5 separate regions of the Homo sapiens genome follow, and all the other regions are linked to region 3. The links are contacts of gene promoters, found by promoter capture Hi-C in blood cells and fetal thymus (Javierre and others, 2016). All regions are on one chromosome and are shown on one strand. Each heading gives the region's core, a stretch centred on a gene start or on the middle of the fragment in contact. The rest is flanking DNA. Distances are from core to core; before and after follow the strand shown. Region 1 holds the start of LOC107985934 (a long non-coding RNA gene). Region 2 has its middle 11 kb from the start of CHCHD5. Region 3 holds the start of IL1A (interleukin 1 alpha). Region 4 overlaps POLR1B (RNA polymerase I subunit B). Region 5 has its middle 20 kb from the start of IL37.

Region 1 (4,022 bases), core at 376-2,875, 150 kb after region 3:
GATCTCTTCTCTAAATTCAACTCAGAAATGCAGATGACTGCCCCATGCATTGGGTCTGCCATTGTCCTCCCTCTTTGCCTGTATACTTGTTTTGTTTTCCCAGCAAAATCAGAAGCTCCTGGAGCGCCTTTGCATTTCTTCATGCCCTGCTAAGGTGGGGTTGGTAAATTCATAAACTCAGGGGCAAGGCCAGAATGCATATACAACAGGTAGACAAGAAGGACGGTGTTGGCCGCACAAAACCCATCTATAGATTGAATGGACCCGTGGGCCGCACCAGTTTGAGATCCTTAGCCAGGTGCCTGGCCCTGTCAGTGAGTCCATGAATCCTTTGTGGTGGATGCCCCAGAGGCAGCAGTCAGTCCCCAGCGTCCGGCAGACTGTTGGAGTGGGTGACCTGATTTCCCTGGCCTGGTGTAGAAGGAGCAGCCTGCCTCAGCAGGCACAGAGGTGTCAGCTTCTCACTCCGTGGGCTGTGCTGCACCTGAAGTCAGGTGCTGCCACAAGGCTCTGGTTTCCTGTGAGATCTAACCAGCGGTCGCTTTTCTCACTCATATACTAAGGAAAGAGTGGGCCTGCCCTTCCTCCACTCATGACCCACTCAAAGCTGCCCAGACCAAGTTTACCTGGAGTTTGTGCGGGTGATTTTGGCTGGGCAGCACCTTTATGCTCTGAAGCATTTGGGAGATGGGGATAGGGGTGGAGACAGAAGGACAAGAGGAGAAAGGCAGAGAGCAAGATGCAGGGGGAACGACGCCCTGGAAACCGGGGCCCTATTTTCACTCCTGTGGCCTGCCTTCCACCCCTACCCCTCCCACTGCCCCAGGCTAAGTCCACACGGCAGCCCTTGACACCTCTCAGGTGCTTCCCAGCCTCCAGTCTCACTCCACCCCACCCAAGCTACACAGGCGGTGAGACTCAGCCGCTGAACCGTGAGTTTCACAAAGCCTTTCCCCATGACCACTGCCTGCAAAACAAACTCCAGACCGCTCTGTCTGGCTGGAGCTTTCCATGACAGGGCCCTTCACTGTCTGTCCAGCTTTATTTTCCTCTGTTTCACCACGGGAAGAATGTATTCTGCCCGGTCCGGCTTGTCACCACCATACCTTAGAACGTTAACTTCTTCAGGAATGTGAGCTGCTCCCAAGTCTGTCCCCGCATTCTCCTCCTGGTAGCAAGCCTGGGGAATGGCATAGTTACCCTAATTCCACAGATGAGGAGAAAGGGGTCAAAGAGTTCAGGTGCTTCTCAAGACCACAGCACGACAAGCAGGAGAGCTAGTCTCAACGCAGGCCCTTTTTGCTCCACAGTTCAGGGTCTTCCCACGTAACTTTACTTAAAGGAAAATTGTAAGCTCCTGAGAATGTGGGCTAGGCCGTACTTGTTTTGTTTGTAAATGTGTACATGGGTGTCTTGGTTCATTCAGGCTGCTGTAACAGAGGACTATAGACCAGGTGGCCTGTAAGCAACAGAAATTCATTTCTCACAGGGAGGCTGGGAAGTCCAAGATCAAAACGCCAGCAGAATCAATGTGTGATGAGGGCCTGCTTTCTGGTTCATAGACAGCTGGCTTCTCACTGTGTCCTCAGATGAAGGAAGGGGAGAGGAAGCTCTCTGGTGGTCTCTTTTATAAGGGCACTAATCCCATTCATGAGGTCTCCACCCTCATGACTGCATCACCTCCCAAAGGCCGCACCTCCAAATGTTATCACATTGGGAATTAGGTATCAACACGAATTTGAGGGAGAGTTTTTTGTTACCTTTTTTTTTTTTAGATGGCGTTTCACTCTTGTTGCCCAGGCTGGAGTGCAATGGCACGATCTCAGCTCACTGCAGCCTCCACCTTCCAGGTTCAAGCGATTCTCCTGCCTCAGCCCCCCCGAGTAGCTGGGATTATAGGTGCGTGCCACCACACCCGGCTAATTTTTTGTATTTTTAGTAGAGACAGGGGTTTCACCATGTTGGCCAGGCTGGTCTTGAACTCCTGACCTCAGGTGATCCGCCTGCCTCGGCCTCCCAAAGTGCTGGGATTACAGGAGTGAGCCACTGTGCCCGGCCACAAACATTCTATCTAGTGACATTTTATCTATTGCTCATGGGTTACAACTACAATATGTAACAAAACAGAGCTAGGTAAATAATTAAGAGGAACAGTCATGCATTTTCTTTGGTTTGGTTTTGTTTCTTCTTCTTCTTTTTTTTGAGACACTCTTGCTCTGTCGCCCAGGCTGGAGTGTAGTGGCACTATCTCTGCTCACTACAACCTCCTCCTCCCAGGTTCAAGTGATTCTCCTGCCTCAGCCTCCCAAGCAGCTGGGACTGCAGGCATGTGCAACCATGCCCGGCTTATTTATTTATTTATTTTTTTGAGTTGGATCCTCGCTCTGTCACCCAAGCTGGACTGCAATGGCGTGATCTCGGCTTACTGCAACCCCTGCCTCCTGGGTTCAAGTAATTCTCATGCCTCAGTCTCCCTAGCAGCTATGATTACAGGCACTTGCCACCACCTTCAGCCTATTTTCTTAATTTCTTACTTTTTTTTTTTTTTGAGACAGAGTCTCGCTCTGTCACCCAGGCTGGAGTGCAGTGGTGTGATCTTGGCTCGCTGCAACCTCCGCCTCCTAGATTCAAGTGATTCTCCTGCGTCAGCCTCCCAAGTAGCTGGGACTATTAATTTCTTAAGTGGTGGCCAGGCGCGATGGCTCATGCCTATAATCCCAGCACTTTGGGAAGCCGAGGTGGGCGAATCACAAGGTCAGAAAATCGAGACCATCCTGGCCAACATGGTAAAACCCCATCTCTACTAAAAATACAAAAATTAGCTGGGTGTGGTGGTGCACCTCTGTAGTCCCAGCTACTCAGGAGAGTAGGACTCTCCAGCTGAGGCAGGAGAATCGCTTGAACCCGGGAGGCAGAGGCTGCAGCTAGCTGAGATCATGCCACTGCACTCCAGCCTGGGTGACAGAGTGAGACTCTGTCTCAAACAAACAAACAAAAAAATTTATTAAGTGGTGACGTTTCTACACAAAGTGAAGGGATAACCGAGTTCTGTAATTGAATTACATCACTGCTCCCTGCCCTTCTGCTCCACCGCGGTGTACCCTGGCCTGCCTTTCCCCGCTGTGGCTCCAGAGCCAGTGGTGACCCCCTGCCCAGGCAACAACAAGGAAGAGATGGGCACCTCTAGACCCCAAGATGCAAAAGTTCCTCTCCTCCCATTCACACACTCTTTTTGGCCAGCATTTCCCTGGCCGGGATCCCTCCAGCAGCTCAGTTGAAGAGCTAGCCACCTAAAAAAGATTTGCATTACAGTACAGTGTGACAAGAGCCATCGTAGAGCTGTGCACACAATATCGCTGGGGTACCAGGTGGAGTCTGGGGAATCTTTGTGAGTTAGGGATGGGTATGTTAAAGGAGTGAAGGAAAGATATAAAGTACTGAACAGGAAAGCTGCAAAGAGCAGGCCCTAGGAGCTTGAAGTCCATCATCGTCAGTAAGCCCCGCCTTGGCTTCTGTTTCTTAATGAGGCCAGACTCTCTCAGTCTGCAGATCAGAGCAAACAGAAGCCCTCATCTGTTTATAGTTTAATCCTAACCTGATCCTAGCTTGGAAGCAAAGCTTCTCTCACTTTAGCAATGACAGCTTCTCCGTACACTTTAGGACCATGGCTTTCCACCTACAAGTCCCCACAAGCACTTTTTAAAAAATGAAATTAAAGAAAATATCAGAGTGCATCCAACAGAGTAAGTATTATTTCATGAAACTTTTGATTCAGTGACATGTGTGTATGAGTCTGGGTGGTAATGTCAGATGTATTTCTTACTGAGATTTTAAAAGTTAAACTTTAAACGTTTAAAGGAAAACATCTGTTCATCAAATATTAAGTATGATCAGAAACTGTATCTTGTTCTAGGGTAAAGAAAAGAGCAAGACTTGGCTCCTTCACTTAGGAAGCTGTGAATCTGGGGGCGAAAAGACAAACATACCGCTAGGACAGGATGTGAAAACCACACTGACAAAGT
Region 2 (4,141 bases), core at 1,172-3,671, 190 kb after region 3:
TCTAATGGTTAGAGAGACTGCATATTTTTCCTTTCCTCTTTTGTGAGTTGCCTGTTCCTATTGTATCACTGAGGTTTTGCTGCTGTAACAAATAACCACAGTATCTCAGTGGCTTACAACAAGAAGCATGTAGTTCTTGATCATTTAAATGAGGACTGAGGTTGACCTGTAGCTCTGCTCAGTTTCTATTCTCATTCCTGGTCCCGGACTGAATGAGCATCATCCTCTAAGGCCATTCCCACAACGTAGAGATGAAACACAAAATGCAAAGCTACAAGATGCATGCCATTTAAAACTTCCGCCCAGATGTGGCATATGTCACATCTTTTCACCTCTCATTGGCTAACACAAGTCTCACCAGCCAGCCCTGGCTATGGGTCAGAGAAGTACCCTTCTCCAACAGAGTATGTGATGAAGGTGGAGGTGGGAATGTTTAACATTGACACAGGGAAAGAGTTGATAACTCTTTATGTGATTATTATCTACTAAACGGTTCCACTTTTTTTTTTTTTAATTATTTTTGAGACAGAGTTTCGCTCTTGTCACCCAGGCTAGAGTACAATGGCATGATCTCGGCTCACTGCAACCTCTGCCTCCCGGGTTCAAGTGATTCTCCTGCCTCGGCCTCCCAAGTAGCTGGGATCACAGGCATGTGCCACGACGCCCAGCTAAGTTAATACAAACATGGTCATCATGTTGGACAGCCTGGTCTCGAAATCCCATTTATTTATTTATTTATTTATTTATTTATTTATTTATGAGATGGAGTCTCGTTCTGTAGCCCAGGCTGGAGTACAGTGGCATGATCTTGGCTCAATGCAACCTCTGCCTCCTGGGTTCAAGCGATTCTCCTGCCTCAGCCTCCCGAGTAGCTGGGATTATACGCATGTACCACCATGCCCAGCTAATTTTTGTATTTTTTAGTAGAGATAGGGTTTCACCATGTTGGCCAGGCTGGTCTCAAACTCCTGACCTCAAGTGATCCATTTGCCTCAGCCTCCCAAAGTGCTGGGATTACAGGCACGAGCCATCGCCCCCGGCACACAAGCCTTGCTTCAAGGTGATTCCACTTGGTATGTGATTCTCCTCCATAAACACAGGTTATAAAGTGTTCCCTCTATGAACTGAGATTCTCTCTCTGACTTTGATCTAATATAGACAAGTAGAATGAAAACATGGTCTGGCTGACACTTCCACTTCTGGCATCTCTCCAAACTGAGGTGGCCTTGATACCTAAGAAAGCCCCATGCTGATGGCAGCCCAAGGGGAGCAAGGTCAGGGAAGGCCTCTCCCTGTTAGGAAGGACATTCACATAATTTTCTTCCTGTGCACAGTGTGAGTCTCAAAAAAAAAAAAAAGACTCTCACTCTGTCGCCCACGCTGGAGTGCAGTGGCGTCGTGATCCCGGCTCACTGCAACCTCTGCCTCCTGGGCTCAAGCAATCCTGCTACCTCAGCCTCCCGCATAGCCGGGATTACAGGCACCTGCCACCATGCCCAGCTAATTTTTGTTTTTTTAGTACAGACGGGGTTTCACCATGTTGGCCAAGCTGGTCTTGAACTCCTGACCTTAAACAATCAGCCTACCTTGGCCTCCCAAAGTGCTGGGATTGCAGACGTAAGCCACCATGCCCAGCCTGAATTGATAAATTCTTGAGAGATGGGAAACGGCATTCTTTAATGAGAATTTTGGATATAGGGGACACTAATAGAAACTAACAAAGTGCTTTCATAAAATTCCCAGATGCTCAAAGAAAATTTAAAAGTCGAGTTAAGATCCATAAAATATGCATGCCCAGGCTGGGCGCGGTGGCTCACGCCTGTAATCCCAACATTTTGGGAGGCTGAGGCAGGTGGATCACGAGGTCAGGAGATTGAGACCATCCTGGCCAACATGGTGAAACCCCATCTGTACTAAAAATACAAAAATTAGCTGGGCGTGGTGGCGCGTGCCTGTGGTCCTAGCTACTCAGGAGGCTGAGGCAGGAGAATCGCTTGAACTCGGGAGGTGGAGGTTGCAGTGAGCTGAGATTGCGCCACTGCACTCCAGCCTGGGCAACAGAATGAGACTCCACCTCAAAAAAAAAAAAAAGTGCACGCCCACAACTGAGTAAAAGACAGGACTGTGATCAGGAAGTGCAGAAAATGTTAAATTTTAATGTCAGGGGTTAATTTAGAAAACATTGGCAAGTGTTTTCTCCTTTTATCATACCTTCCCCCTTTCTCATCTTTGCTGCAGATAAGGTCAAGTTCAGGGACTGCAGGACTTAAGGGGTAGGAGGTAATTCCTTCAAAACAAAAATGAAGGCAGGGTGTGGTGGCTCACGCCTGGAATCCCAGCACTTTGGGAGGCAGACGAGGGCAGATCACTTGAGGTTAGGAGTTCTAGACCAGCCTGGCCAACATATTGAAACCCCATCTCTACTAAAAATACAAAAAAATTAGCTGGGTGTGGCGGTGCATGTCTATAATCCCAGCTACTCAGGAGGTTGAGGCAGGAGTAATGCTTGAACCCGGGAGACGGTCCTCGCAGTGAGCCAAGACCATGCCATTGCACTCCAGCCTGGGCCATAGAGTGATTCTGTCTCAGAAAAAAAAAAAAAAAAAGATGAAAAGAAAACCCTTCTTTTCTCCTGCTTTGCATCTGCAATGGTGCAGGAATCCACAGATGTAACTAGACGTAACTGATGAATTGCAAGAAGTTAGAAGCCTGAAGAATGCAGCCGACATGAAAGGCTTTTATTCATACAGGTGATGTGATCTAAATGACTGACTGCATATTTAGAAAATAGGAAGAGTGTGAGGGACGGCAGCAAGGGTGAAGAATCGCCCCTCACCAGACAAGACTACAACAAAATTAACTGAGTCCTCATTTCAGCTTTAAAATAAACAAAAGGGGCTGGGCATGGTGGTTCACTCCTGTAATCCCAGCACTTTGGGAGGCCAAGGCAGGCAGATTTCTTGAGCTCAGGAGTTAGAGAACAGCCTGGACAATATGGTGAAACCCCATCTCTACTAAAAAGACAAAAATTAGCTGGGCATGCGTGCCTGTAGTCTCATCTACTCAGGAGGCTGAGGTGGGAGGATCATCTGAGCCCAGGAGGTGGAGGTGGCAGTGAGCCGAGATCACATCACTGCACTCCAGCCTGGTCAACAGAGTGAGACCCCATCTCATAAATAAATAAACAAACAAATAAATAAAATGAACAAAAGGGGAACTGTATACCCAAACTATAAAACAAAAATTAAAAAAAAATGAAAAGGGGAATTGTAAATCCAGGCTTAAGATGGAGTGAGGCCTTCTAAGAAAAAGAACAGCAACAACAATAACAATACCAAACCTTCTGCAGGGGCAGAGTGCAAAGAAATGGTGGTGAGAATGACAAGCTGGGGAAAATAATGCCTGCTGCAATTCCGGACACATTGGGACTTAGTGCTCCCTTTGAGACATCTATATGAAGGTCCATGGCAGCAGGTGGAAGCCCAAGGCAGAAGCCAGGGCTGGAGATAACCATCTGTGAACCAATGACTTATCTGATATTCTCTAGGAAGGAGATCACTGCACAGAGGAGAGAATAAGAAGAGGCCTGGTGTAAGCCTTGAAGAAAATCATTATGTCACGGCTGGGTGGGAGAAGGTGGTGGCATAGCCAGAGAGCTAGGAGGAAACCTGCAGAGTCCATGTAAAGATGAAAGAAGAGTAGAAATGTGGAGGGCCATTAAAAAATTATTCTGACAGTTGTTAAAACAGTATAGAAAATTGTACTCAAGACGACTGTCCCTGTCTCACTTCCCACTGCCCTAGTAATGCTTACTGGGATCAACCTCTAATTCTCTGTCCCAGGGTCTGTTTCTGGGGGAACCTGAGCTAAGACGGTGCATCATGAACCAAGGATTATGATTCAAGCACATATGGCACATTAACAAAAGCTGAGCATATGCCAAGCCATAAAGGCTCGACACATTTCAAAAGATTAAAATCATATAAAATGTTCCCAACCCAATTGCAATTAAGCAAGATACCTAAAAAAAAAAAACCTCCTTATGTTTAGAAATTAAGAAATACGACTCTAAACTTCTAAACAATCTGAGGTCAATGGAGAAATCAAAAGAGAGTAGAGAAGGGAAAATAAGGAACAAAAG
Region 3 (4,209 bases), core at 615-3,114:
GTTTTTTTCCTGGATTACCAAAGAGATGGTATGCATTGCTCCCAGAAGCTAAATATCTTCAGGCTTTCAATGGTGGCCTTCACCTGAAAATGTTATCCCTGTTGAAGCTTTCAAGCCAGTATTTTCATAAGAACTATATTTTCTTTGGTGAACTGAGGCATTATAATGATGACTATACAGGTTCTTGAGTGACTGAAGCCATCATTAGCATTGTCATTATTTTTGTTTAGTTGCATCTCCATAGCAGCTCACATTCACAATGTGCTTTGCAATTGTTCCTTAGCAATAGCCCTCACAAGATTCTCAGGAGGAGAGGGTTAATCAGGATTAACATTTCTGTGTTGCCTAAAGAGGAACCAAGGTAAGCAGAAATGTAGCCAGTTGGCTGGCATCACTGTTGCTTCAGGATTCATCCTTAGACACCCAAGCTTCTACCCTAGTCTGGTGCTACACTTACATTGCTTACATCCAAGTGTGGTTATTTCTGTGGCTCCTGTTATAACTATTATAGCACCAGGTCTATGACCAGGAGAATTAGACTGGCATTAAATCAGAATAAGAGATTTTGCACCTGCAATAGACCTTATGACACCTAACCAACCCCATTATTTACAATTAAACAGGAACAGAGGGAATACTTTATCCAACTCACACAAGCTGCTTTCCTCCCAGATCCATGCTTTTTTGCGTTTATTATTTTTTAGAGATGGGGGCTTCACTATGTTGCCCACACTGGACTAAAACTCTGGGCCTCAAGTGATTGTCCTGCCTCAGCCTCCTGAATAGCTGGGACTACAGGGGCATGCCATCACACCTAGTTCATTTCCTCTATTTAAAATATACATGGCTTAAACTCCAACTGGGAACCCAAAACATTCATTTGCTAAGAGTCTGGTGTTCTACCACCTGAACTAGGCTGGCCACAGGAATTATAAAAGCTGAGAAATTCTTTAATAATAGTAACCAGGCAACACCATTGAAGGCTCATATGTAAAAATCCATGCCTTCCTTTCTCCCAATCTCCATTCCCAAACTTAGCCACTGGCTTCTGGCTGAGGCCTTACGCATACCTCCCGGGGCTTGCACACACCTTCTTCTACAGAAGACACACCTTGGGCATATCCTACAGAAGACCAGGCTTCTCTCTGGTCCTTGGTAGAGGGCTACTTTACTGTAACAGGGCCAGGGTGGAGAGTTCTCTCCTGAAGCTCCATCCCCTCTATAGGAAATGTGTTGACAATATTCAGAAGAGTAAGAGGATCAAGACTTCTTTGTGCTCAAATACCACTGTTCTCTTCTCTACCCTGCCCTAACCAGGAGCTTGTCACCCCAAACTCTGAGGTGATTTATGCCTTAATCAAGCAAACTTCCCTCTTCAGAAAAGATGGCTCATTTTCCCTCAAAAGTTGCCAGGAGCTGCCAAGTATTCTGCCAATTCACCCTGGAGCACAATCAACAAATTCAGCCAGAACACAACTACAGCTACTATTAGAACTATTATTATTAATAAATTCCTCTCCAAATCTAGCCCCTTGACTTCGGATTTCACGATTTCTCCCTTCCTCCTAGAAACTTGATAAGTTTCCCGCGCTTCCCTTTTTCTAAGACTACATGTTTGTCATCTTATAAAGCAAAGGGGTGAATAAATGAACCAAATCAATAACTTCTGGAATATCTGCAAACAACAATAATATCAGCTATGCCATCTTTCACTATTTTAGCCAGTATCGAGTTGAATGAACATAGAAAAATACAAAACTGAATTCTTCCCTGTAAATTCCCCGTTTTGACGACGCACTTGTAGCCACGTAGCCACGCCTACTTAAGACAATTACAAAAGGCGAAGAAGACTGACTCAGGCTTAAGCTGCCAGCCAGAGAGGGAGTCATTTCATTGGCGTTTGAGTCAGCAAAGGTATTGTCCTCACATCTCTGGCTATTAAAGTATTTTCTGTTGTTGTTTTTCTCTTTGGCTGTTTTCTCTCACATTGCCTTCTCTAAAGCTACAGCCTCTCCTTTCTTTTCTTGTCCCTCCCTGGTTTGGTATGTGACCTAGAATTACAGTCAGATTTCAGAAAATGATTCTCTCATTTTGCTGATAAGGACTGATTCGTTATACTGAGGGACAGCAGAACTAGTTTCCTATGAGGGCATGGGTGAATACAACTGAGGCTTCTCATGGGAGGGAATCTCTACTATCCAAAATTATTAGGAGAAAATTGAAAATTTCCAACTCTGTCTCTCTCTTACCTCTGTGTAAGGCAAATACCTTATTCTTGTGGTGTTTTTGTAACCTCTTCAAACTTTCATTGATTGAATGCCTGTTCTGGCAATACATTAGGTTGGGCACATAAGGAATACCAACATAAATAAAACATTCTAAAAGAAGTTTACGATCTAATAAAGGAGACAGGTACATAGCAAACTAATTCAAAGGAGCTAGAAGATGGAGAAAATGCTGAATGTGGACTAAGTCATTCAACAAAGTTTTCAGGAAGCACAAAGAGGAGGGGCTCCCCTCACAGATATCTGGATTAGAGGCTGGCTGAGCTGATGGTGGCTGGTGTTCTCTGTTGCAGAAGTCAAGATGGCCAAAGTTCCAGACATGTTTGAAGACCTGAAGAACTGTTACAGGTAAGGAATAAGATTTATCTCTTGTGATTTAATGAGGGTTTCAAGGCTCACCAGAATCCAGCTAGGCATAACAGTGGCCAGCATGGGGGCAGGCCGGCAGAGGTTGTAGAGATGTGTACTAGTCCTGAAGTCAGAGCAGGTTCAGAGAAGACCCAGAAAAACTAAGCATTCAGCATGTTAAACTGAGATTACATTGGCAGGGAGACCGCCATTTTAGAAAAATTATTTTTGAGGTCTGCTGAGCCCTACATGAATATCAGCATCAACTTAGACACAGCCTCTGTTGAGATCACATGCCCTGATATAAGAATGGGTTTTACTGGTCCATTCTCAGGAAAACTTGATCTCATTCAGGAACAGGAAATGGCTCCACAGCAAGCTGGGCATGTGAACTCACATATGCAGGCAAATCTCACTCAGATGTAGAAGAAAGGTAAATGAACACAAAGATAAAATTACGGAACATATTAAACTAACATGATGTTTCCATTATCTGTAGTAAATACTAACACAAACTAGGCTGTCAAAATTTTGCCTGGATATTTTACTAAGTATAAATTATGAAATCTGTTTTAGTGAATACATGAAAGTAATGTGTAACATATAATCTATTTGGTTAAAATAAAAAGGAAGTGCTTCAAAACCTTTCTTTTCTCTAAAGGAGCTTAACATTCTTCCCTGAACTTCAATTAAAGCTCTTCAATTTGTTAGCCAAGTCCAATTTTTACAGATAAAGCACAGGTAAAGCTCAAAGCCTGTCTTGATGACTACTAATTCCAGATTAGTAAGATATGAATTACTCTACCTATGTGTATGTGTAGAAGTCCTTAAATTTCAAAGATGACAGTAATGGCCATGTGTATGTGTGTGACCCACAACTATCATGGTCATTAAAGTACATTGGCCAGAGACCACACTGAAATAACAACAATTACATTCTCATCATCTTATTTTGACAGTGAAAATGAAGAAGACAGTTCCTCCATTGATCATCTGTCTCTGAATCAGGTAAGCAAATGACTGTAATTCTCATGGGACTGCTATTCTTACACAGTGGTTTCTTCATCCAAAGAGAACAGCAATGACTTGAATCTTCAATACTTTTGTTTTACCCTCACTAGAGGTCCAGAGACCTGTCTTTCATTATAAGTGAGACCAGCTGCCTCTCTAAACTAATAGTTGATGTGCATTGGCTTCTCCCAGAACAGAGCAGAACCATCCCAAATCCCTGAGAACTGGAGTCTCCTGGGGCAGGCTTCATCAGGATGTTAGTTATGCCATCCTGAGAAAGGCCCCGCAGGCCGCTTCACCAGGTGTCTGTCTCCTAACGTGATGTGTTGTGGTTGTCTTCTCTGACACCAGCATCAGAGGTTAGAGAAAGTCTCCAAACATGAAGCTGAGAGAGAGGAAGCAAGCCAGTTGAAAGTGAGAAGTCTACAGCCACTCATCAATCTGTGTTATTGTGTTTGGAGACCACAAATAGACACTATAAGTACTGCCTAGTATGTCTTCAGTACTGGCTTTAAAAGCTGTCCCCAAAGGAGTATTTCTAAAATATTTTGAGCATTGTTAAGCA
Region 4 (4,359 bases), core at 578-3,077, 210 kb after region 3:
TTCTATAAAGCTGGTAAAAAACACTGTACCTGTTTGTTTTTACTTCAACGTGGCTATAAGAAAATATAAAATTACATTACAGCTTGCATTCTATTTGTATAGTACTGTCCTGCTCAAGATGGATTAACAGGTGTGTGACACTCACTGCCTGCTGAGAGCAGGGTGTAGGGAACCTGGGGTTGGAAAGGAGACTTGTCACCGTATGCTCTTCCATTTATCAATATTTCATATTTTGAGAAGACATGAACTTTTTGAACAAAGATAACAGAAAATCATTGTCAATAGTTAATCTACCAGAGAGATTCAGAAACCTTGCATACTTGGTTTTCAGGTCTTGGTTGAGAGTTCTAACACCGTTGAAAAATCTCAAGAGTAACCTGGTAATGATATCTTCATTGAATTAAAATTACATTTTGCTTTAATCTGATAGTCCTCTTAATCCAAAAGGTCAACATCAAGTTAAACAACATCCAGTTTCACTTTGATGTTCATAGCTGCCAGTTCAGCTACAAAATACCGAAAAACATAAGGCACAGAAACAGTATCGATAGTGTCACTGCGACTACACAGAGTACAGTTGTATTTTCTGTTGCGCATGGCAGACCAAGAAGGGGGTGGCTTCTCCAACAGTGGAGAGAGTAAACTGCCACACTTCACACACACATGGGCTACCGACCGATCTGAGCAGTTGAAGAGGCGGTCATGAAGGAGAAAAGATGTACCATGAGCTAAAAGCGCATCCCGTTCCATCTCCCCAAAACGGATTCCACCCTGGACATTTCTTCCCCCAATAGGCTGGTTGGTGACTCTGTCTCGGGCTCCAGTTGTCCTTACTTGAAATTTGTCTGAGACCATATGGCGTAAGCGCTGATAATAAACCACTCCTATGAAGATGTCTGCTTCCAGTTCTAGCCCACTGATGCCACTATATAACCTCTCGGTGCCATAGAAATTGTAGCCAGCAGCCTTTAACATCTCACCAAAGTATTCTAAGGCCGAGTTCTCCTCTGAGAAGATGAAGGGTGTAGCATCATGGCAGAGACCATGCAAAGCTGCAGACTTCCCGGCCATACTCTCAATTAACATCCCAATGGTCATGCGGGATGGAAAACCATGGGGATTGAACAGAATGTCTGGGACCATCCCACTCTCAGTAAAAGGCATGTCCTCAGCCGGCCACAATCTGCTTAAAATGCCCTTCTGCCCATGGCGACTGGCAAATTTATCTCCGATAGTTGGGTTCCGAGGCACTCTCATAGTGATGCAAACACACTTGAATTTTCCACTCCCAGTGTCATTACTGCACACTTTGATGTTATCCACAACACAATTTTCTTTACTCCTAGGAAAAAGTAAACCATATAAGGTCAACCTATTTGTTTTAACTTATGGAGATAAGTTTCATTGATATAATTAGTGCTTCATAAAGGATATTTGTAAAACTTTTTTTTTTTTTTTTTTTTTTATGATACAGGGTCTCACTCTGTTGCCCAGGCTGGAGTGCGGTGGTGCAATTACAGCTCACTGCAGCCTTGACTTTCCGGGTTCAAGCAATCCTCCCACCTCAGCCTCCTGAGTAGCTGGGACTACAGGTATATGCCACTAGGCCTGGCTAGTCTTTAAATTTTTTTTGTAGAGATAGGGCCCCACTACATTGCCCAGACTGATCATGAACTCCTGTGCTTAAGGAATCCTCCTGTTTTGGTCTCCCAAAGTGTTGGGATTGCAGGTGTGAACTACTGTGCCTGGCCTGCAAAACTCATTCTTACCTTTATTCTCCAATACAAACAGAGATGGTATGAATAGAGCTATTGGTGATATTCACTACAGAATTATGTTCATCTGAAAGAAAACTAGCAACAAAAGCAACTGAAAAATTATTATGAAAGCCTATTGAAATAAATTATATTGTAAAATAAGCTAAAATAAGACATTTCTAATAAGAGGTATGAGCTCAACATTTTGGCTAGGAAACATTGCTAACATTGTATGTGAGAAAGATGACAAAGTTTGGATAATACAGTTTTTAAAAAAAGCACAAATAGGCCAGGGATGGTGGCTCAGGCCTGTAATCCTAGCACTTTGGGAGGCTGAAGCAGGTGGATCACTTGAGCCCAGGAGTTCGAGACCTACCTGGGCAACATGGTGAAACCGTCTATACTAAAAATACAAAAAATTAGCTGGGCATGGTGGTCCATGCCTGGAGTCCCAGCTACTCAAAGGCTGAGGCGAGAGGATTGCTTGAGCCCGGGAGGTGGTGGTTGTAGTGAGCTGAGATCACTCCACTGCACTCCAGCCCGGCTGACACACTGAGACCCTGTCTCAAAACAAAAACAAAAACAAAAACAAAACAGCTTGGATACCCAAACTTACTTATAGTACATCACAAAACTTTCCCCGGTGTTGAGGTTGAGGTAGCTGTAATACGGATCTCCGTACTGCAGTTTTGCTCCTATAAACGGCAATCCATCGTCATCTAACTTCTGCAGAACGCGTGGGTCACCAGGTTTGATGCCAAACACCAGGCTACTATCTCCTTGTTTAATTTTTTCAGAGAGGTCTATGAACTCAGACTTGTAGACACTTCCATGGGCAAAGCCTCGTTCCCAAGAGGCCTTATTCACAATCTGTGAAGTAAAAGAATCGTTAAAAGACTGAGGCCAATTGAGGATTTTCAAAATAAAACTAGGTGGGACTATCATACTTGGTTTAGGATAACTGGCATCACATTTTAACTTTCCTCACATTTTCCAAATCACTGATACTAACTACAAAAACCCAGACATGGCTGGGCACGGTGGCTCACGCCTGTAATTCCAGCACTTTGGGAGGCCAAGGCAGGTGGATCACTTGAGGTCAGGAGTTCGAGACCAGCCTGGCCAACATGGTGAAACCCCATCTCTACTAAAAACACGAAAATTAGCCAGGCATGGTGATGGGTGCCTGTAGTCCCAGCTATTCGAGAGGCTGAGGCAGGAGAACTGCTTGAACCCAGAAGGTGGAGGTTGCAGTGAGCCAAGATCGTGCCACTGCACTCCAGCCTGGGCAACAGAGCGAGACTCCGTCTCAAAAATAAAAAACAAAAAACAAACAAACAAAAAACAAGAAAAACAAAAACCCAGGCACACAGAAATAGCTTAAAATCTAATCATACTTAAATATAAAAGGTAGATAGATCCAAAACCAAACTTCAAAATTTACTCATAATATGCACTCAAATATGCAAGACATACGTGTATCTGAATATTTAGTGGATATTCCTCAAGGCTTGCCCACTTTCAACTTAGACTAAGAACTAATCATTTAATAGAACATCACGTGCCAAATACTAGGTACTTGGGTACACAAAAATATTCCTTCAGTGATTTCACAGTAAACAAACAAGTTAAAAAATAAAAAGATTGGAACAACATTTCCTGGTAAAACTTACCATGGCATCTTCCATATCATAGCCAGTGTAAGAAATCACAGCAACGATGGCATTGGTCCCAATTGGATAGTTATCCATGTCATAATAATCATACATGGAGGGTCTCACCAAGGGACTCTGAGGAGTCTGAAGACGATACAGTTTGTTATCCGATCGGTCTTGATAAGTGAGAAGTGGAAAGCCCATAGTTTGCTTACCTACATGGAGAAAAAACATCTTAGCATTTTCTGCTGCTTTCATCTTGATTATAGGTGTGATACGCAACACTGGAAACAACTAAATATCCATCAGAGGAAAATGAACAAATAAATAGTCATGGTAGTTATGCTTACTTTAGACTAATACATAAGCTGTGAAAATGAAGTAAACCTAAATGTATCAACGTGACCAGACCAGGAAAACCATGCTGAGTGGGAGAAAGTGCAGACTGACATTTAATATGATACGATTTATGTGTATTTGCAACACACCCCAAACAATTCTATACTTAGTTTATGGATACATGTATGATGTAATAAAAGCTTTAGAAGGGGACAGAAAGGAAGTACGCAAATTACAGGCTATCACTACTCGGGGAAGAAAAGGGGATAGGAATTATTACGTAATTAGATTACTTTCTTACAGCGGAATATGTATTTAATTCTAAGTAGTGGAGCATGGGGTGAGATTCCTCTGTGTACTACCTCACAGTACAGAGAATCATTTCACGACAAAATGATTTTAAAATATAAATACATACAAGTGAAATTTTTAAAAAAATTATAGACTTAGAGCTTCCAGTAATAAAGGGCTACTCTTACTAGACCACCCTCAACACATAAGTATGAGACGCAGACCCCCAACTACACATACAGCACTGGAGAGTAACCAAAAGCTGTCAGAAGCTGAGAAGAATTTTTACTTGGACAAAAGGAACACACTGGGTGAAT
Region 5 (4,061 bases), core at 1,512-4,011, 150 kb before region 3:
ATAGCTTTGGTATAATGCCTTACTCAAAGAAGTAATTCAGGGGCTCAGTACCAGAATGTAACAATCACTGGATCCAAATCTGCTAATGTAAGCTAGTAAAATTCTTTAAAATGTTTTGCATTATCCATTTATAATCAATTTTATTAAACCAAAAAACACACTTACGTTTCTTTTCAAGACAGCCTTTGTGTACCATGTGTGAGGCTTCCATGGGACCAGCCCTAGAAGTTTCTTTTTTTTTTTTTTTTTTTTTTTTTTTTTGAGACGGAGTCTCACTCTGTTGCCCAGGCTGGAGTGCAGTGGCACAATCTGGGCTCACTTCAAGATCCACATCCCGGGTTCACGCCATTCTTCTGCCTCAGCCTCCCTAGTAGCTGGGACTACAGGCACCCGCCACCATGCCCGGCTAATTTTTTTTTGTAGTTTTAGTAGAGACGGGGTTTCACAATGTTAGCCAGGATTGTCTCGATCTCCTGACCTTGTGATCCGCCCACCTCAGCCTCCCAAAGTGCTGGGATTACAGACGTGAGCCACTGCGCCCGGGCTAGAAGTTTCTTAAAGGACCTATAAAACATGCCCTTAAATCGTTCTGAGTTCTTACAATTTCCCACATTACATCAGGCGAGTTTTGCTAAACTTCCCACCACTACATACCAAGCATCATTTTTTCCTCTAGCTTCCCCTACTGTTTTCCTCACTATGCTTCAACCCTCCCTAAAAGTTTCCTTGAGGCCTGCCAAGCTCCCCTGCCACTCAGACCCAAAACCAAAGTCACGTGTCTTAAGCTTTCATTGCTGTAGCACCTCACCCCTGGTACCAAATTCTGTTCCAGTAATCTGGAACAAATCAGCCCAAAGCCTAGTGGATTATTTTGCTCATAATTCTGCAGTTTGGGCAGGGCTAAGCTGAGATGGTTTACTCTGTTCCACATTGCTCAACTGGGGCTGGAGTATACAGTACTAAGTGGTTCACTCGCCTGGTGACAAGTTGCTACTGTTTGTCAGCTAGGAGCACAGCTAGGGCTGTATGTAAGACCCCAATTTATCACCATGTGGGCCTCTTAAGGGGGCAGCTTAGAATTTCTCACTGTATGATGGATGGGTTGCAAGAACAAGTATTCCAAGGGACAGAAATAAAAGTTGCCAGTTCCTTAAGGCTGGAAGAGGCTGGAAATGATTACAGCATCATTTCCACTACATTCTATTGGTCAAGCCATCACAGAGCCACCCCAGAGTCAAGTGGACCAAAGAACCACACGAATGGAACTGGCCACCCAGGGAATCAAGACAGCAGTCACACACATTGAAGAAAGTGAGGCTTGTTCCTCCTACCACTACTGCAGGTGGACTTTTCATGGCCTCAGACTATCAGCATTCCAATACAAATGCTGCCTGTATCCCAACCCTGGACCAAAGGATCTGCAGCCATCTTTAATCTGTCCCATCAATGAAGCTATTAGCTGATTGCTTATTGCCATCATAATTTCATATCTATCCACTCCCATTTTATTATTCCCAATGATGCAAGAGTCTCAGGTATCATTGTGCTAGAAGACATGCCAGAACTCCAGGCATCCACTCACAGCTGTCAACACTGTACGTCCCTGAACCAGGTATGTGGTCCTCACCCTCAGATTACTAGAATACCTCTCTGGGCTGTGGCATCAGTAATTTTGCCCTTTCCCATCCTCTAGCCCAAGCCTAAATTGTCTTCCTTAGCTATGGACATGCAAGGCTGGGGAGATGAAATAGCATCATTGACTTGGCCAGGCTGTGTTTTCAACTACTAGGATCTCCTTCTAATAGCTTTTCTAACTTTCCAAATTTTATCCTCGATACCTACTCTGAACAACTTGCTCCAAGGTACAAGAGTAGACTTTTTCTCCCAGGAGGGCTTGCACCAGAAATCAATGAGTTATTAGTGATGTAGACAGAGGGAGAAAATGGAGCATGAGAGTATAATACCTTGGTGCATTGTGGTAGGGTACCACTGGTATCATTTGCTCCTCTATTCCAAGGGCTGGGATGACTGATATTAAAAGCAAATAGAGAATTTGTCTTAGGAAAGTGTTTTTGGAACCCATTGCTTTGGACTATCTTTGTTTGATAGAGATTGATGCCAAATGTTTGAATATAGCATTTCTTTAGGTGGACTTGTGGATATCACTTGAGTGCATACCATCTGAAGGTCTGCTGTGCATTTCATCAGGCCTGTGACCAATTATGTTTTGTGACTGAGTATCAGTCACCTAGATGTCTCCAAGTCCTGCAGGCTTAGGGTCATCCTGTTTGGAATTTTCTTTTTTTTTTTTTTTTGACACAGTCTCGCTCTGGATTGCAGTGGTGCGATCTCGGCCCACTGCAACCTCCACCTCCCAGGTTCAAGCGATTCTCCTGCCTCAGCCTCCCGAGTAGCTGGGAATAAAGGCACGCACCACCATGCCCAGCTAATTTTTGTATTTTTAGTGGAGACACGGTTTCACCGTGTTGGCCAGGATGGTCTCAATCTCTTGACCTTGTGATCCGCCCTCCTCAGCCTCCCAAAGTGTGGGATTACAGGCATGAGCCACCGCGCCCAGCCCCTGTTTGTAATTTTTAAGTAGAAATTTACTTGAACCCCTATCCAACATATGGTGGAAAACCTGGTTTGCTCTACCCTATTTCCTAACACCTGAGGAGTACCTCTCATGTCACTAATTTCTTTTATCTCCTGACCTTTCTGTCATGGCTCACATATTTCAATTGTTTCCTGTGTTGGTGCCAACTGACCCAGAACTCCCAACACACACACACACACACACACACACACACACACACAAAGCATCATCACAAAACATTTGTATCAGCCCAGTAATTCCTCAAACCTGGCTTTAGAAACACCTGGAGGACTTTTAAACATCCTAATGCCAAGCCTGCTCCCTGGATATTTCAATGTCAGCCATGCCTGAGAATCTGTCAACTAGCCCAGTGCTTCTCAAATGCGAGTGTGTGTGAGAATCACCTGGGGAGCTTGTTAAAATGCAGGCTCTGTTTCTGGGTCCCGGGTAGGGCTCTAGATTCTGCATCTCTAACAAGTTCTCAAGTGATGCTGATGCCGCTGATCCCCAGACCACACTTTGACTAGCAAAGAGCTATCAGATATGAGGGATGACAGGGGCCCAGCAAATAATTACAACTAAACATCAGACACATCAGTGACACCACTATCAGGAACTTCTCAGAGGCCATCCTGCTCCCCCAGTTCCAGCTCCAGGGCCCCCTCTCATTTCTCATTTCCCTTGGCTTCTACCTATTCCCAGGACCTTGTCTTTCTAGGGATGTCATGGCCACTATATATTTATTTAGTTATTTAATTTATTTCTGAGACAGAGTCTCTTTCTGTCACCCAGGCTAGAGTGCAGTGGCACAGTCATGGCTCAATGTATCCTTACCTTCCTGGGCTCAAGTGATCCTCCTACCTCAGCCTGCCAGGTAGCTGGGACTACAGGTGCATGCCACCACATGTGGTTAATTTTTTTTTTTCTTTTTTTTTTTGTAGAGGTCTTGTTGTTTCCCAGGCTGATCTCAAACCCCTGGCCTCAAGCAATCCTCCCACTTCAGCCTCCCAAAGCACTAGGATTACAGACATGAGTCACTACACTCTGCCAGGCTGGCATGTCTTTATCGGGCAGCTCAATCTAGTTCCCTCTGTCTCCAAGCACATCCCGGTCCCACTCTAAGAGCTGTCTTGCCACACCTAAATGCACCATCAAAAGGATTTGCTGATCCCAAGGCAGTACTGTGCCCAAGGAATGCTACCTCCAGCTTCTAAAGCAGAGGTTCCCAAAATCTCTCAGTTCATGGTATCCTTCGTGTCCCAGGAATTTCTTCACCGAGTACTTTAAGCCAAAAGAAACACCTGATGGTTCTGCTTCTCTCTCTCTCTCTCATTTTTTTTTTTTTGAGATGTAGTCTCACTATCACCCAAGCTGGAGTGCAGTGGCACGATTTTGGCTCACTACAACCTCCGCTTCCCAGGTTCAAGCAATTCTCCTGCCTCAGCCTCCTGAGTAGCTGGGGTTA

Evidence for each region. Contacts are between HindIII fragments. The CHiCAGO score rates a contact against its expected background, and 5 or more counts as called.
Region 1: a fragment that was not itself captured here is called in contact with the fragment with the promoter of IL1A in region 3 in 1 of 17 cell types (monocytes); the score reaches 5.0 in monocytes.
Region 2: a fragment that was not itself captured here is called in contact with the fragment with the promoter of IL1A in region 3 in 2 of 17 cell types (neutrophils and monocytes); the score reaches 10.4 in neutrophils.
Region 4: a contact is called between a fragment that was not itself captured here and the fragment with the promoter of IL1A in region 3, in 1 of 17 cell types (neutrophils). The highest score is 6.1, in neutrophils.
Region 5: a contact is called between a fragment that was not itself captured here and the fragment with the promoter of IL1A in region 3, in 10 of 17 cell types (megakaryocytes, endothelial precursors, M0 macrophages and 7 more). The highest score is 11.9, in megakaryocytes.

What each region holds. Positions count from the first base shown.
Region 1 is chr2:112,631,282-112,635,303 of GRCh38, reverse strand. LOC107985934 (a long non-coding RNA gene) reads right to left here and starts at 2,010. Exons shown (of 2, transcript XR_001739642.2): 1 at 1-2,010. The HindIII fragment of the contact is 3,990 bases long and covers 1-3,620 here.
Region 2 is chr2:112,593,671-112,597,811 of GRCh38, reverse strand. No RefSeq gene overlaps it. Among named protein-coding and RNA genes, the nearest start is that of CHCHD5, 11 kb to the right of the region's middle. The HindIII fragment of the contact is 7,050 bases long and covers 1-4,141 here.
Region 3 is chr2:112,782,148-112,786,356 of GRCh38, reverse strand. IL1A (interleukin 1 alpha) reads left to right here and starts at 1,864. Exons shown (of 7, transcript NM_000575.5): 1 at 1,864-1,914; 2 at 2,579-2,633; 3 at 3,593-3,641. The coding sequence starts at 2,587. The HindIII fragment of the contact is 4,198 bases long and covers 431-4,209 here.
Region 4 is chr2:112,571,830-112,576,188 of GRCh38, reverse strand. It overlaps POLR1B (RNA polymerase I subunit B), which reads right to left. Exons shown (of 15, transcript NM_019014.6): 13 at 3,431-3,627; 14 at 2,374-2,627; 15 at 1-1,342. The coding sequence ends at 460. Among named protein-coding and RNA genes, the nearest start is that of CHCHD5, 11 kb to the left of the region's middle. The HindIII fragment of the contact is 4,253 bases long and covers 1-3,953 here.
Region 5 is chr2:112,928,650-112,932,710 of GRCh38, reverse strand. It overlaps the pseudogene CDK8P2. Among named protein-coding and RNA genes, the nearest start is that of IL37, 20 kb to the right of the region's middle. The HindIII fragment of the contact is 3,948 bases long and covers 788-4,061 here.